5 separate regions of the Homo sapiens genome follow, and all the other regions are linked to region 1. The links are contacts of gene promoters, found by promoter capture Hi-C in blood cells and fetal thymus (Javierre and others, 2016). All regions are on one chromosome and are shown on one strand. The core of a region is centred on a gene start or on the middle of the fragment in contact, and the rest is flanking DNA. Distances in the headings are between cores, read along the strand shown. Region 1 holds the start of HCFC1-AS1 (HCFC1 antisense RNA 1). Region 2 holds the start of PLXNA3 (plexin A3). Region 3 overlaps CCNQ (cyclin Q). Region 4 holds the start of DUSP9 (dual specificity phosphatase 9). Region 5 overlaps FLNA (filamin A).

Region 1 (2,724 bases), core at 9-2,508:
ATCCGCCGACCCGGGTAATGCCGGAGCCTTGGGGACCCCTAGGACGGGCCGGCGGCAGGGCCGCCTCTCCCTTTCCACGTTTACTTCTGCAGCATTTCTTTCCAAGTCGCCCCTTCTCCTAATCTGGTGCCTTCTGGTTTACAAGCTGAATTCCAGTTACCCCTCAGCGGCCTGCGTAGTCGTGTGTCTCCCCGCTTCTGCGGATCCAGGGGGTTACCCCACCCGCTCTTCTGCCTCCCTGCAAAACCCAAAGCCCGTTAGTTGGGAAGGGGAGGAACCTCTCTCTTCAGGTATGGCTGATGCACCACGGCCTTCGTGGGGGCCGTTTGTTGTTGCCTCTGCCTAGTAGCCTTGCTTAGTCTCTAGGGCAGAAAGCCTGCTGCTGTCCACGACAGCTTTGTGGCATCCTTTTTCTTGGTGGCTACTTGGCCCGTTTTGTGCCCCTAGCACAAGGGTCAGTTCCCAAGTTGCCTACTGACTGCCCGTTGGCCCACAGGACCCTGGCCTTGCCCAGAAGGCAGGGTCAGGGTGAGTTCGGTCCCAGGCAAGAGCTGGAAGAGTCTGGGTGAGGGAAAAGCCCCCTGCAGGCGGCTGGGGGAGGGCCTTGGGATGCCCTAGTCCTGAGTGGCAGGCACGGCTCCCAGCACTAACCCCTTGCTCCGCGGCCGTTCTCTCCTGGGGGCTCTAGCGATCCCCTGGCCTCGGTGGTGGCCCTGCAGACAAACCCTCGCTGAGTGGGCTTTGTGTCCTGAGCGGTGAGAGGCTGCTGTTCTTTGGCTGAGCTCCAGTGCCTCGATGCTCTGGGGGTGGGAAGCTGGAGCTGCCTGGAGGGAGAAAGTTGGTTTAGGGAGTTGGGAAGGCTGGAGCTGGGCTCTTGGGTGCCGCTTCCTTCCCCACCCCCCAAGGCAGAAAGTGCTGGTTTCTCCACATCTCGGAGATTATCGCCACCTACCACGTTGACTTTGAAAGGCTGGTGGGTTGTCTGTGACCGTTTTTCGTTCCAGGTCTCTCAGCACCTGTTGCCTCCAGGGAGCAGGGCCTTTCTCAGCAGCCCCCGGGCGGGGGCGCTTGGTGGTTGGTGGTGCCCCGCGCCAGCCCAGGCAGCTGCAGTAGCAGGAATTAGCTCAGTAAGCTAAGGCTTCTCCAGTGGTGGGGCTGTTTATAGAGGCACCGTCACCATGAGCAGCACCTTCTCCACTCTGTGGACCGACTTTCTTCTCATAAGGCCTGGAGCAGGCTCCCTGGCAGGGAAATGCAATTTTAGAAAGTAGGGCAGGGGCCTAATTACAGTCGGCTCCAGAGTCCACCACCACTGCTGCCTTGGCTTCCTGGGGCCTCTGCATATTCATTAGTTTATTAAAATGAATTGACCACTTTGGCATGAATTCATTACCAGTCTGCAAAGACAGGTTGTGCATTAGAGGGGTAGCCTGCCTTCCAAAGGGCTGCTTAAAATGAAGCTCTGGGATCCTCCAGGGTAGCAGTTTGGAAACTGTCATCGGCAATTCCTCAGACGAGAGAGCAGCTGGCAGACCTGAAGCCCTCTTCCTCACCGGGGTTTCTGCCCCCTCCCGCCAGCCCGGCCTCGTCACCTTTGTCTTGTCTTCTTTTGTTGTGTTTGGGATGAGATCAGGGCATATTCTCACGCCTGTGCCCCTTGCAGTTCTGCGGGATCAGTCCTCAAAAAGCCTTGTACCTTTGGAGAGAGCTGATCTGGAAGGGGTTCCCGTTGCTAGGATAAGAAAGCTTCAGGGGGTGTGTGCTTTGAGAGCTCTTAGGGTAGCTACTGTGCTTGTCCTTAGGGAATTTTAGTTCCATGTGGCAAGCCAAAGGATTCAGAGTGCTGCCAGGTGTGGGGGGTGGGGGAGCGAGAGCTTTGGCTACGGTGGCTCTGTAATGTCCATAGGTTCTTGGAGCTGGAGGGAGCCTTGGAAAATACCTAGTGGAACTACTTCCTTGTTTCTGCAGATGAGGAAATTGGGGTCCAAGAGGGGAAGTGACAGGTCCAGGGTCGCCCTCCCAGCTGGTGGCGGAGTTGGGCGGGAGTGCAAACCTTCATAGAGGCCGTTCTGCCACCTGTCTTTGGGGCCCATCACCTTTGAAATGCCTCCATTCTCTCCTCTGTCCCTGTATCTAATTGTTCATTGCGTTGGGCAGGCATCAAATGTGTCCCCTTCCACACCAAGCCCTCCTCTCCTCTTACTAGACTCTTGCAGTCACTTCCTGATTGGCCCTGCTAGTTTCATTTGTCGGGAAATCCTGTTCACCCTTCAAGGCCCGGCTGAAACGTCACCTCTTCTGAGAAGCCCTTTCCACTCCTGTCCTCCCCTCTCCAGCAGTCGCACTGCTCTGTGCTCCCAAGGGCCCGGCTTGGTCAGAGCTCTTCTAGGGTGTTTGTCTCATCGTGGGAGGGGGGCATGCAGCCTTCCTACCCCATTGGGAGTATGAGCACAAGATCGGTGTCCTCTGTGCCTCCCAGCACGTCGTATGCCACACAGGAAATGCTCTAATGTGACAGGTAGAACAGAGAGGAAGGCAGCTCGTTGAACTTGACCGGCCACCTCACTGCATGGGCACCAGTCTCTAGGTGGTGATGGGACAGTGGCAACCAGGGATGGAGCTTGCAGAGCATGAAGTGGTTGGGGGAGCTGATGAAACACAGAGAGGCCGGGGCACAGCCTTGCTCAGGAGAGGGGAGCTGGAGTGGTCTTCATCTAGTGCAGG
Region 2 (2,700 bases), core at 59-2,558, 490 kb before region 1:
TGGCCTCCCCGATGCAACACAAAGCCAAGTCGCGCCTGCCCCTCAGCCACGCACCCAGACACACATCAGTCAAGCTCTGCTCAGCCACAGCCTGCATGGCTCCCCCTCCAGACCCAGGGGTTCACTGGAGAAGGGAATGTACAGGGGGCCCTACCTGCCCTTTGGAGTCCCAGGAGCCTTACAAGAGGAGGAGCAATGTCCCCAAATACAGTCAAGGCCTTGGAGAGACAGGGCAGGAGCCACAGGGACAGTGCTGGGACTGGCACTTAGTCCCCAGGCCACACCCAGTCAGCCCCAGGCTGCTAAGACAGCAGAGCAGTGTCGTGGCAGCCAACAGGGCAGGGCTCAGCGCTACCCTCTCAGTGCCAGAGCTCCCGGGGGAGATAGGAGGTACCCAGCTTGAGGGCGGGAGGCGGGGGGGGAGCGGGGGGTGGTGCAGGGAACCAAACCAAGGAGGCACAGGAGAGAGAAAGGAAAAATAAGGCATTTGCCAGGAACAAGCAGCGGGCCCAGCTTGAAACTGCAAAGTTTCAGCTCAGATTGATCACCTCTCCAGGGCTCTTTTGTCAGCTGGACCCCTCATGCAACAGCCGGAGAAGAAAGGAAGGCCAAAGAAAAGAGAGGCCACATCCTGTCTTCACCTCCTCTACACCCCGGGAACACAAGCCTAGGAACAGGCTGGGGACAGGTCGGGAGGGAGACCTGGGGAGGCAGTTTCAGGCCCAGCCCCCACCTGTAAGTGGCAACCTCGGGCATCACAGGTACAGCTGGGCCAGCAGAGAGCCTGAGGAAGGGGCAGCCCCACGCAGAGACGGGGGTCCAGCGGCCGCCCCCCACACCCCCCACCGTGCTGCTGGTCCGGTTTGCCCGGGCCCCATCAGGGCACCCCTCGGCGGACTCGCGGAGCCCTTAGCGGGAGGGAAGTACAGCGTTGATCCTCCGAGGGGCCGCTCCCCTGCGACAAAGGGTCCTCTTTGGGCAGGGTGTTGGTCTTGGGTTGGCGTCCCCACCATGCGGGGCACAAGGAGTCGGGCAGGCCGGCGCCGACGGGCAGGGATAGGGCCTGACCCCCACAGGCCGAGCCGGACCCCCGGGCTGCCGGAGCCCCGGGCCCCGAGCTGTTTGGCCCCGCACGGACGGCGACGATGACGGCCACCTACCTGTCCCTCCGCTGGCTCCGGGTGGCCGCCCTCTGGCCACGTGGACGCGCCCCCGAGCCCCACCGCGGCCCCGCTCGCACGTCCCCACGGCCTCGCCCCGCGCCCCGGGCCCCAAGCGCGCAGCCGCCGCCGCCGCCGCCCACACACTGGGCTGGCCCGGGGGCCGCCGGAGCCTTTTAAACCCGGACCGTACCACCGCGCGGGGCGGGGGCGTCCGGGGACGCCCGGCCGAGGGGGACGCGGCGGCAGGGGACGCAGGCGGGGCCGCTGCTCCCCGGGGCCAGGGACCTCGCGCGCAGCCCTGACCCCCGCGACCTGAAGGGGGACCCGCCCGGCCAGCCGACCCCCTTCGCTCGATGGCCGCGTCCGCGGCGCGCGCCTCCCCCGCGCCCCGGCTCCCCGCCCGCCGCCTCGGGCGACCCCGGAACCCGCGCGCGCCCGCGCCACACCCCCTCGGGCCTGGGGCGCGCGTCCGCCTCGCCCCACCCTGGCGCTCGGAGACGCGCCCGGGGTCACCTGCCACCGGGGCGCGGCCTCGCTGGTCCCGGCCTCTCAGGTGCACCCCCGCCGAGGAGTCGCGTCCCCAGCTCAAGACACGCCCCCGACGGTCTCTAACCCGGAGGGCCTGCGGGACAGCCGTCCAAACCAGCCCCTTCCCCGGCGACCCTGAACCGAGGGCTTTCTTCCTTCCCTTGCTTTCTTTTTCCTTTTCTTTTTTTGTTTTCTTTTGACACAGGGTCTCGCTCTGTCACCCGGGCTGGAGTGCAGTGGTGAGATCATAGCTCACTGCAGCCTCGACCGCCCCAGGCTCAAACGATGCTCCCGCCTCAGCCTCCCAAAGTGCTGGGACTACAGGTGTGAGCCACCGCGCCCCGTTAAGGTTTTCTTTTTCATTTCCCTGATGACTAATGGTGTTCAGCATCTTTTCATGTGCTTGCTGGCCTTTTGTATATGATCTCTGAAGAAATGTCTATTCAAGTCATTTGCCCATTTTTATTAAACACATATATGGAGAGATAGATAGATAGACAGATTTTTCCCCCCAAGTTGAGGTCGCGCTCTATCACCCAGGCTGCAGTGTAGCGGCATTGGATCATGGCTCACTGCAGCCTCGACTTCCTGGGCTCAAGGGATCCTCCTGCCTCAGCCTCCCAGGTAGCTGGGACCACAGGCAAGTGCCACCACGCCTGGCTAACTTTTCCTATTCTTGTAGAGAGAGACAGGGTCTTGCTACACTGCCCAGGCTAGTCTTGAACTCCTGGGCTTAAGTAATCCTCCTGCCTCAGCCTTCCAAAGTACTGGCATATGCTGGGTGCAGTGACTCAAGCCTGTAATCCCAGCATTTTGGAAGGCTGAAGTGAGCGGATCACCTGAGGTCAGGAGTTCGAGACCAGCCTGGCCAACATGGCAAAACCCCATCTCTACAAAAAATACAAAAATTAGCCGGACATGGTGTCATATGCCTGTAGTCCCAGCTACTCAGGAGGCTGAAGCAGGAGAATTTTTTTTTTTTTTTTTTTTTTTTTTAGACAAAGTCTTG
Region 3 (2,700 bases), core at 200-2,699, 380 kb after region 1:
ATATGATATTAACATATTCATCCATCGATGGATGCAGGCTGCTTCCACGTTTTGGCCTTGCTTTTTTTTTTTTTTTTTTTTTTTTTTAATAGAGACAGAGTCTCACTCTATTGCCCAGGCTGGAGTACAGTGGCGCAATCTCAGCTTACTACAGCCTCCACCTCCTTGGTTCAAGTGATTGTCCTGCCTCAGTCTCCTAAGTAACTGGGATTACAAGTGCCTGCCACCACACCTGGCTAATTTTTGTATTTTTAGTAGAGACGGGGTTTCACCATGTTGGCCAGGCTGATCTTGAACTCGTGACCTCCAGTGATCCACCCGCCTCGGCCTCCCAAAGTGCTGGGATTACAAGCGTGAGCCACTATGCCCAGCCCCTGAATGTTTTTTAATGATTGCTTCTGAGCTTGGGGTCTCCAGGAGCACACAGGTCATGGACCCCAGCAAGCAAGTGTGCATTTCTGAAGTATTTGTTTTTCACCCAGAGCCCAGGGTAAGACAGCTATGCTTCCTGAGTCAGGACTTGGAGGGCGTCCAGGTCACCATCTCCTACCTGAGGTTGTAGGCCACAGAGGAACCTAGGGTTCTTTGGGAGCATTCAGCAGGGGTGGACGTAGGTCCAGTTCTTGCCTTGACTTGGCCCAAGGCCTTGATCTGATTGGTACATTGGTTCCCCAGGCAGCAAGCTCTGGCACAGGGTGGCTACAGACGCAGCATCTGACCAAGGTCTTGCTGCTTTACTTACTATTTCCCTTATCATTGGGGATCCCGAAGAGCACCCTGGGGCTCAGTGCTGTGCCGGGAGGGCTCGGAACTCAGAAAAGCTGTCACACTCCCAGTTCCGGTTTATTACAAGGAAAGGACACAGGTTACCGTGAGCGAAGGCTCAGGGCGCACAGGGCGGGCTCCAGGAGAGACCAGGCGTGAGCTTCAGCGGCTCCTCGCCCAGGGGAGTTGTGCAGACGGCACCTGTTTCTTTCGGCAACAGTGTGGGACAGCGAGCACGGAGTCACAACCGGGAAGCTCATCCCAGCCATGGCGGCCAGGGTTTCCGTGGGAGGTGGTGGGCTGCATGGGCATGGAGCGCCTGCGTGGCCAACCCTGGTCACTTGGGCTGCAGCCACCAGAGATCTGGCTGGGACTCTGTGGCCCAAGGCCCTCACCATAAATGATGTGGTTAGCACAGACCGCCTGGCAGTCCAGTAAACCAAGACGCTCACACGGGGCAGGATTTTCTAGGGGCCTAGAGGTTATCCTCCAGGAGCCAGGCAGAGGCCAGACCTGCCTTTGGAAGGTACAGGGTGTGGACCCCAGCCTGTGGCGTGGCCCTGGGCTGCAACCCTCCTGCCATGGGCCCCGAGGATGTCCTTCGCCGTCTTGCGAGTGCTCCTGCACGTGGCGGTCCGGACTGTGGAGTGGGTCCACATGCTCCCCAGGGGCTGGGTTAGGGTAGGCGTGGGGTCCGGGTACTTAGCCTGCCTGTGGCTGCACAGGGACTGCCACCCTCTCCTCTTGCCAGTGTCCGCAGAGACCCTGGACCTGAGGGAGTCCCGGGCAGGAGGCAGGAGCCTGTGCTCTGGACCCAGCTGTGTTACCAATTCCCTGTATGACGTTGGACAGGTCCCCTCCTCTCTGAGTCAGAAGATCACCAAGGCCTGTTCCATCTGGAATGTTCTCGGCCTTGTAAAGTGTTTGGCCTCAACGGGCTGGAATTAAACTGGCTTTGCAGGAGAGCTACTGTCTTCCTACATAGCCAAGTCCCTGTGCCCCTCCCCTGCCCATGAAATGTGATTCTCTGCTTAGTGACAGGTGCCTTGTTTAACATAGAGGGAGTCTAACTGGAACCTGTTTTCCTTCTTCTTTCTAGGTGTTTAATGACGACCTTACCAAGCCAATCATTGATAATATTGTGTCTGATCTCATTCAGATTTATACCATGGACACAGAGATCCCCTAAGGTCCTGGCCCAGGCCTGCCCAAAGAGAAGCCCAGGATGGTCGGCTGCCTGGGGACATTGTCACCACGTCGCCATGACGGCTGGTCCCCACAGGACCAGCTGGGAGGACTGGTTGTGCTGCTGGAGAAGGGCTGGAGAAGGCAATGGCATGCTGCCGCTTTGCCAGTCCCTAGAAGTCGCGGTGCAGGTGATGGTGGGAGCCGCGCCTCCAGCGGGCAGGCCGGGAGTGTACTGTGTGCAGCTGACCCAAGGCAGCCACATCTGCGTTTGTCCTTTGAGAGGACTTTGACTACAATACAGGCATGACATCAATGAAAGGAAAGTCATGAAATCGATGAGACTGAATCCCTACGGATTTCTTAAAAGCCAGATTTGTAGGGAGAATGAATGTGCAACGTGGCTGAAATCTATTTTGTGTAATAAAAGGTGATACAAGTCAATAGGGACCCTTGGCTTTGCTCTGCAGCGCATGCTGCACATGGGGGTGTGAGGGGCCCTCAGAGACTGGTTCCCTCAGAGTGCTCTCAGGTAGAGTGTGTCCCAGCCATCAGGCGGCAGGCCTGGGGTTAGGGAGGATCACTTGCATTCAGAAAAGTGAGTCCTGATCGAACGTAACTAAAAGTAATGCGTTTTTAAATGTCAAGGTAGCCAGTCTGGATGGGGAGGCTGGAGAAACTCAGAGCTGTGGCCCCCAGCACCCCTCTGACTCCTTGCTCAAAAGCCAGTGGGTAAGAAATAGACCAGTC
Region 4 (2,700 bases), core at 65-2,564, 320 kb after region 1:
GGCTCAGAGACTGGGCTGCCGAGGGTGAAGAACTTCCCCACGGTCACACTCAGGCTTCCCTCCTCTCAAAGCAGCCTGGCAGGTCATCAGGGGAGGGGGGCCTCAACTCGCTTTAGAAAAAAAGAAGTGGGGCTGGCCTAAGGTCAAATGAATCCCGAACCCCCTGGAAGGAGGGCCCCGCGGCACCTACCCTGGAGGTAGTAGGCCAGGTAGCCTTCCTCTCGCAGCTTCTGCAGCAGGGTGCCCAGCACCGACTCGGCCTCCCACTCCTCGGCCTCGGCCTCGGCCTCCCCGCGCCGGCGCCGGCCCCCGCCCTGGTCGTACAGGAGCACGGGGGCAGGCGGGGGCGGCTGCAGCGGCGGCCCAGGCAGGAGCGCGCGCACCGACAGGCTGCCCCTCCGCAGGCGGCGCAGCAGGAGCGCCGGCAGGGCCACGCTCAGCGCCCCACCGATGCGCGCCGACTCGTACAGCTCGCGGCTGCGGCAGTCCAGGAGCAGGAGCCGCGGCCGCGGGGGCGACAGCTCCCGACGCAGCCACAGGCACGAGCGGCCCAGACCCTCCATGGGCGATCGGCTCCCTACACGCTGGACCACGGGCGCTGCGAAGAGAGAGAAGGCGCGGTGTGAGCTACCGGAGGGCCGAGGGGGCTCAGACTTGAAGCCGGCCCCGCGTCCTGAAGGCGGGAGCCCAGGGTCCCCCACCATGAGGACTCCCAACAAGGCGCCCCAAGAAACCCCCCAGGCAGCAGCTCGGCCCGGGGAAGGGTCCTCGAGAAGAGGGCTGAGCGGCTAACCGCCCCTTCGAGGCTCATCTTGGGGTACCCTGAGGTCGCAGCCGCCTCCCTCCATACCCCCTTTCTGCTCCTGTCTCGGTCTTCTCGCGAACGCTCCCCAAGTTCGAGCTTCCGACTCTGGCTGGGGGTGTGCGTGCGAGGAGTGCCGTTCGAGGCCTAGATCTCCCCCAGGGCCAGGTGGGCCAGGGGAACAGAGGAGGCGCCGAGGTGCTGGGCCTCAGCGAGTCCTCTCAGAGGTGGTCTGGCCCCCGGTCCCCCATCTCCCCCTACCCCTAGGAGAGAACAAAAGGAAAGAGACCTGGAGCGAGATCCGGCGGTGGACGACCGCGCGTGGACGTTCTGGCCACGGCCACTGCCACGGCGGAACGCGAGGCGCCGTCCCGCGGCAGAGAGTCCCCAGGCCTGGCCGCCAGGAGAGGGCGGGGCGGCGGTGCAGGCTCGCACGTGGAAGCCGAGCCCCGCGCAGCCCGCGCAGCCCGCGCACCGGCCGCTTCCTGGCAGCCGGACCCAGCTTCCACCTTGGAAACTGCCTTCGGACGTGGAGTTACAACTCCGAGGGGCGGGCCGGGGCGGGGCTCCGGGGGCGGGCCCGGCGGGCCGGTGAGCCAACGGGTGCTAGCCGAAGCAGTCGGGTGGGACCTGCGAGTCGGCTGAGCTGGGGCTTCCACCGAGGCGGGACGGGGTCGGGGCAGAGGCCAAGGGCAGGTCAGGGGCCCAGCAGGGGACCAGCTGCGGCTCCCCTGGCCGGCGCCAGCCTGGCCTCGGGAGGCAGGGGGAGGGGTGAGGACCAGAGCCCAGCCCCTCTGCCGCAGAAGCTGCCTCCAGCCCAACTCACAGGGTGATACTGGAGCATCTTCTCCCCTGCCTGGATCTCAGTGGCCCCATCTCTGTAATGGGCTCAGAGCTAGCAGCTTGGGCAAACTTGGGATGCCACCGAAATCACGGAGGGGAGGAGGAGGCAGGACCAGAAACTTAGTGCAGCTTTGGCCCAGAGGTCTGCTGCAGGGCTAGGCAGGCAGGGGTAGCTCCTGGATACCTACCAATACCAGCCCGCTTCACTCGCACAGGACTGGCCAAAAGCACCCAGGAACCCTGAGCTCCCAGCCCTAAACTGGGGCACTCTGCTCTTATCACATTACTGATCCTAAGAGTCACCCGTGGCTCCCCCCTCTGCCTCCTTCCCTTAACCCCCCTTCGGCTAATCAAAGTGGAAAGAACTAGTTTCTACCTAAATATCTCTCACATCCACGCCTCTCTCCCCTGTCCCTTGCCCTAGCCGAGGGCTCAAATTCATCAGCTTTAGGCCAGGTCACTGTCACGTCTTGCACAACAGTCTCCCTGCCTCCGGGCCTGCAACGACCTGCCCTCCACCCTGCCCTGCCCAGCCCTGCCCAACGTCAGAATGCCATCCACTCAACCAAGGCTGGTGGCCTCCATCCTTTCCTCCATGGGCACAACAGGCGGGACAGATCCACAGGCAGCAAGAGCACTGGACAAGGTCTCAGGTGTGGTGAGCACTGAGGCAGGAGACCAGGGTCAGGGGGAGGTGTCCACAATGCTGATCTGGCTAAAAGTCCCTTCTCTGCTTAAAGCTCAACAAAAGCAAATAACAGTGTTGAAGGAAAATGTACGCCAGATAAGATAAAGCTCATACCCAACTAAAAGGTTAAGACCCCTGTAGATAAATGGGCAAAGAACCTGAAAACACTGCATACTGCAGGAAGGAGGGAATGCGGTGGCCTAACAAATATTTGGGGGAAGGTTCAACTTCAGGCGTGGAAGGAAAGCCACTCCAATAAACAAGTAACAATGACCAACGAGGTAACACTTCCCACCTACTGCATTAGAAATGTTCTCATTTTTGAGAACACGCAGTGCTGGCAAGATTGCTGTGAAATCAGCGTGCT
Region 5 (2,700 bases), core at 1-2,500, 390 kb before region 1:
TGCTGCCTACTCATGATGCCAGCAAGGTGAAGGCCAGTGGCCCCGGGCTCAACACCACTGGCGTGCCTGCCAGCCTGCCCGTGGAGTTCACCATCGATGCAAAGGACGCCGGGGAGGGCCTGCTGGCTGTCCAGATCACGGTGAGCTCCGGGCACAGGCAGGGGAGGCAGGGGGGCCTGGGCGGCTGGAGTGTGGGCTGCGGGTGGCTGGTGTCTGATCTCCCTGCGGAGCTGCACCAAGGAGGGCAGGGAAGGACAGGGCCCCTGTCTTTGGTTTGCTAAGGTTGTGACTACCTTAGGATGGTGGTGACAGGCACAGGCTTCCCCAGACGTGCACTTGCTGCTAACTTTGAGCACGTCACCAAAGCCTTCTGTGCCTCAGTTTCCCCACCTGTAATATTCTCATGGGGCAGGTATAGGATAGAAGCTTGAGATCACCCCGGTGAGCTCCTCCTAGTGCTGGCCAGGCCCTGGGGCTGAGGATGGGTGCCAAGCTGGCTGGCCGCGCCTGTTGTCATGTGGGAAGTGTGGGATGTTTTAGTCTCCATTCTGGACTCTGCCAGGTGCAGGCAGCCCTTTTGGGCCATAGCAGTTAAGATGCCTGAGGCCCAGAGACTGTCCCTGTAGCAGCAGCGCTGGGCACTCTGGGAGCGCCTGAGGCAGGCCCGGGGCTACTCGGGCTTGGGCCAACTGCCTCCCCTGCCTCTGCCACACAGGATCCCGAAGGCAAGCCGAAGAAGACACACATCCAAGACAACCATGACGGCACGTATACAGTGGCCTACGTGCCAGACGTGACAGGTCGCTACACCATCCTCATCAAGTACGGTGGTGACGAGATCCCCTTCTCCCCGTACCGCGTGCGTGCCGTGCCCACCGGGGACGCCAGCAAGTGCACTGTCACAGGTGAGCCCGCCCGCTGTTGGCCGCTGCGGCGCTCGGCACGGGGCTTGGGTTGTGCCTGTGTGCAAGGGCTCGCTGCTTGGGGCGGCGTGTGGGAGTGGGGGCCGCCCCCTTGAGTGACTCACCTGACCTTTCTCCTTGCTCTCTGCCCTCTCACCTCAGTGTCAATCGGAGGTCACGGGCTAGGTAAGCTGCTTGCTGGGGCCACTCCCAATGCCCCTCCTGCCCAGAGGGGCAGCTTCCTTTCCTCTTGGGGCCGATTCCCAGGACAGTTCCAGCTGCAGCTCTAGGCAGGGACAGAGTTGGGTGGGGTGCAGAAGATGAGGCCGTGGGCTGGAGGGCGAGGGCCCAGGGAGGCTTCCGGAGCTGAGCATGACCGCTCCAGCTCTTCCCCTCTCTGGGCCTTTATTTCCCCATCTGAGAACTCGGGTTGCAGCTGAGAGCTTTGGGGTGAGGTGCATCCTGAGAGGCACCCCACTGGGGACTTTGGGGTCTCGGGATCTTGGCACCCAGGGAGGCACAAGGGCTCCTGCGTGGGCTGAGGGAACAAGGGGTCTCCCCAACTCAATGGGAGCCCCAGCCCTGGCCAGATCCACAGACCCCCATCCCCACCTTCCAGGGGCCTCTGCGTCCCGGGCCGGGGGAGGTGCATGAGCGGGTGGGGCTGGCTGGTAGTGCAGTAGCGCCAGTGTCGACTGCTTGGGCGGCCAGCATGGCGGGGCCCGGCCCAGCCTCAGAGCCCCAAAGTGCATTCTGTGGCCCGTCTCCCTCCTTCCCCCTTCCCCTATCCCCCAGCAGTGACGTTATTCAGACATTCCCCAACAGGCATGGAGGGTCACCTGCCCCAGCCAGGGACACCCAGGGATGCTGATGAGAGGCTACAGGCCTGGCACTTGGGCGAGGTGGCTAAGGAAAGGGTGAGAGGGTGGCTAGAGTTTTGCGGCAGGAGCGAGATGGCTTTATAGAGCAGGCCGTAGGATCCGATGTGTGTGTGACAGGCGTGTGTGCGCAGGGCGGGGGAGGCTGGGGAGTACTGATTGCAGGGCCTTGGGGGCTTTGAGGGTGGGAGCAAGACTCAGTAACCTCAGTTTCCCTGGCTACTGTTTGCAGAATGGAGACAGGGAGCCCGGGGTGGGGAAGGGGGCGCTGAAGTTGCTCTCTGGCAAGCTTGACGGCCACGGGGCTTCAGTGAGAGCCAAATTAGGAGGCATACTTTGAGGATGGAGTGGCTGAGACCTGCGGTTGGCTGGGAGCCGGGCAGGGAAAGTGGGGGCAGTCGGGTACCTGTGAGGTTGGGGCCCAAGCCACTAACTAGATGGCATGGGGTGCACATGAGTGAAGCCTCCCAGGGCAGCGTGGGCAGCCGGCAGCCAGGTCTGGAGCCTGGGAGAGCTGCCTGGCCGCGGCAGGCCAGCATGGAGCCTAGTGCAGCAGGAGCCCTCGGCCGATAGTGGGACTTGGTGGCAGGGCCCCTCGAGCTTGGCCTTCAAGTAGGTTTCGTGCTCCTGGCTGCTTCCCTGGCAGGAGGCCAGGCTGCAGGGGGCACTCTCACTGCCAGGCCTCACAGCCCACAGCCCCCCAAGCCTCCACGGCGGAGACCCAGATCATAACGTCACTGTCTCTCCCCTTTCCTCGGGCACTCTGGGGCCCTGGAGCCTGCTCAGCTGCTCTGCCCTCGCAACCCAGCAGTGGTGGCTGTAGCTTGGGCCTCCTGTTCCCTGTCTCCCTGGGTGCTATCCCCGCTCTGCCAAGCCTGCTGCGCTGCGCTACTCGGGTGCTAACCCCGCTGCCTCCCGCT

The links. Contacts are between HindIII fragments. The CHiCAGO score rates a contact against its expected background, and 5 or more counts as called.
Region 2: the fragment with the promoter of PLXNA3 here is called in contact with the fragment with the promoter of HCFC1-AS1 in region 1 in 9 of 17 cell types (total B cells, naive B cells, total CD8 T cells and 6 more); the score reaches 11.1 in total B cells.
Region 3: a fragment that was not itself captured here is called in contact with the fragment with the promoter of HCFC1-AS1 in region 1 in 1 of 17 cell types (naive B cells); the score reaches 5.8 in naive B cells.
Region 4: a contact is called between the fragment with the promoter of DUSP9 here and the fragment with the promoter of HCFC1-AS1 in region 1, in 4 of 17 cell types (naive B cells, total B cells, total CD4 T cells and 1 more). The highest score is 7.3, in naive B cells.
Region 5: a fragment that was not itself captured here is called in contact with the fragment with the promoter of HCFC1-AS1 in region 1 in 6 of 17 cell types (naive CD4 T cells, non-activated CD4 T cells, monocytes and 3 more); the score reaches 8.7 in naive CD4 T cells.

The regions. Positions count from the first base shown.
Region 1 is chrX:153,967,299-153,970,022 of GRCh38, reverse strand. It overlaps HCFC1-AS1 (HCFC1 antisense RNA 1), which reads right to left and starts at 1,258. Exons shown (of 3, transcript NR_046608.3): 1 at 953-1,258; 2 at 652-824; 3 at 1-238. The region is part of intron 1 of HCFC1 (host cell factor C1); the gene reads left to right. RefSeq lists a silencer at 621-799. The HindIII fragment of the contact is 6,911 bases long and covers 1-1,748 here.
Region 2 is chrX:154,456,889-154,459,588 of GRCh38, reverse strand. PLXNA3 (plexin A3) reads right to left here and starts at 1,308. Exons shown (of 33, transcript NM_017514.5): 1 at 1,161-1,308. RefSeq lists enhancers at 1-405, 1,831-1,900 and silencers at 891-960, 1,201-1,440, 1,571-1,740. The HindIII fragment of the contact is 19,869 bases long and covers 1-2,700 here.
Region 3 is chrX:153,587,619-153,590,318 of GRCh38, reverse strand. It overlaps CCNQ (cyclin Q), which reads left to right. Exons shown (of 5, transcript NM_152274.5): 5 at 1,865-2,394. The coding sequence ends at 1,954. Among named protein-coding and RNA genes, the nearest start is that of CCNQ, 10 kb to the left of the region's middle. The HindIII fragment of the contact is 4,721 bases long and covers 1-2,700 here.
Region 4 is chrX:153,645,817-153,648,516 of GRCh38, reverse strand. It overlaps DUSP9 (dual specificity phosphatase 9), which reads right to left and starts at 1,314. Exons shown (of 4, transcript NM_001318503.2): 1 at 1,092-1,314; 2 at 191-598. The coding sequence starts at 563. The HindIII fragment of the contact is 18,543 bases long and covers 1-2,700 here.
Region 5 is chrX:154,355,639-154,358,338 of GRCh38, reverse strand. It overlaps FLNA (filamin A), which reads left to right. Exons shown (of 48, transcript NM_001110556.2): 28 at 1-140; 29 at 716-905; 30 at 1,065-1,088. Among named protein-coding and RNA genes, the nearest start is that of FLNA, 18 kb to the left of the region's middle. The HindIII fragment of the contact is 1,643 bases long and covers 429-2,071 here.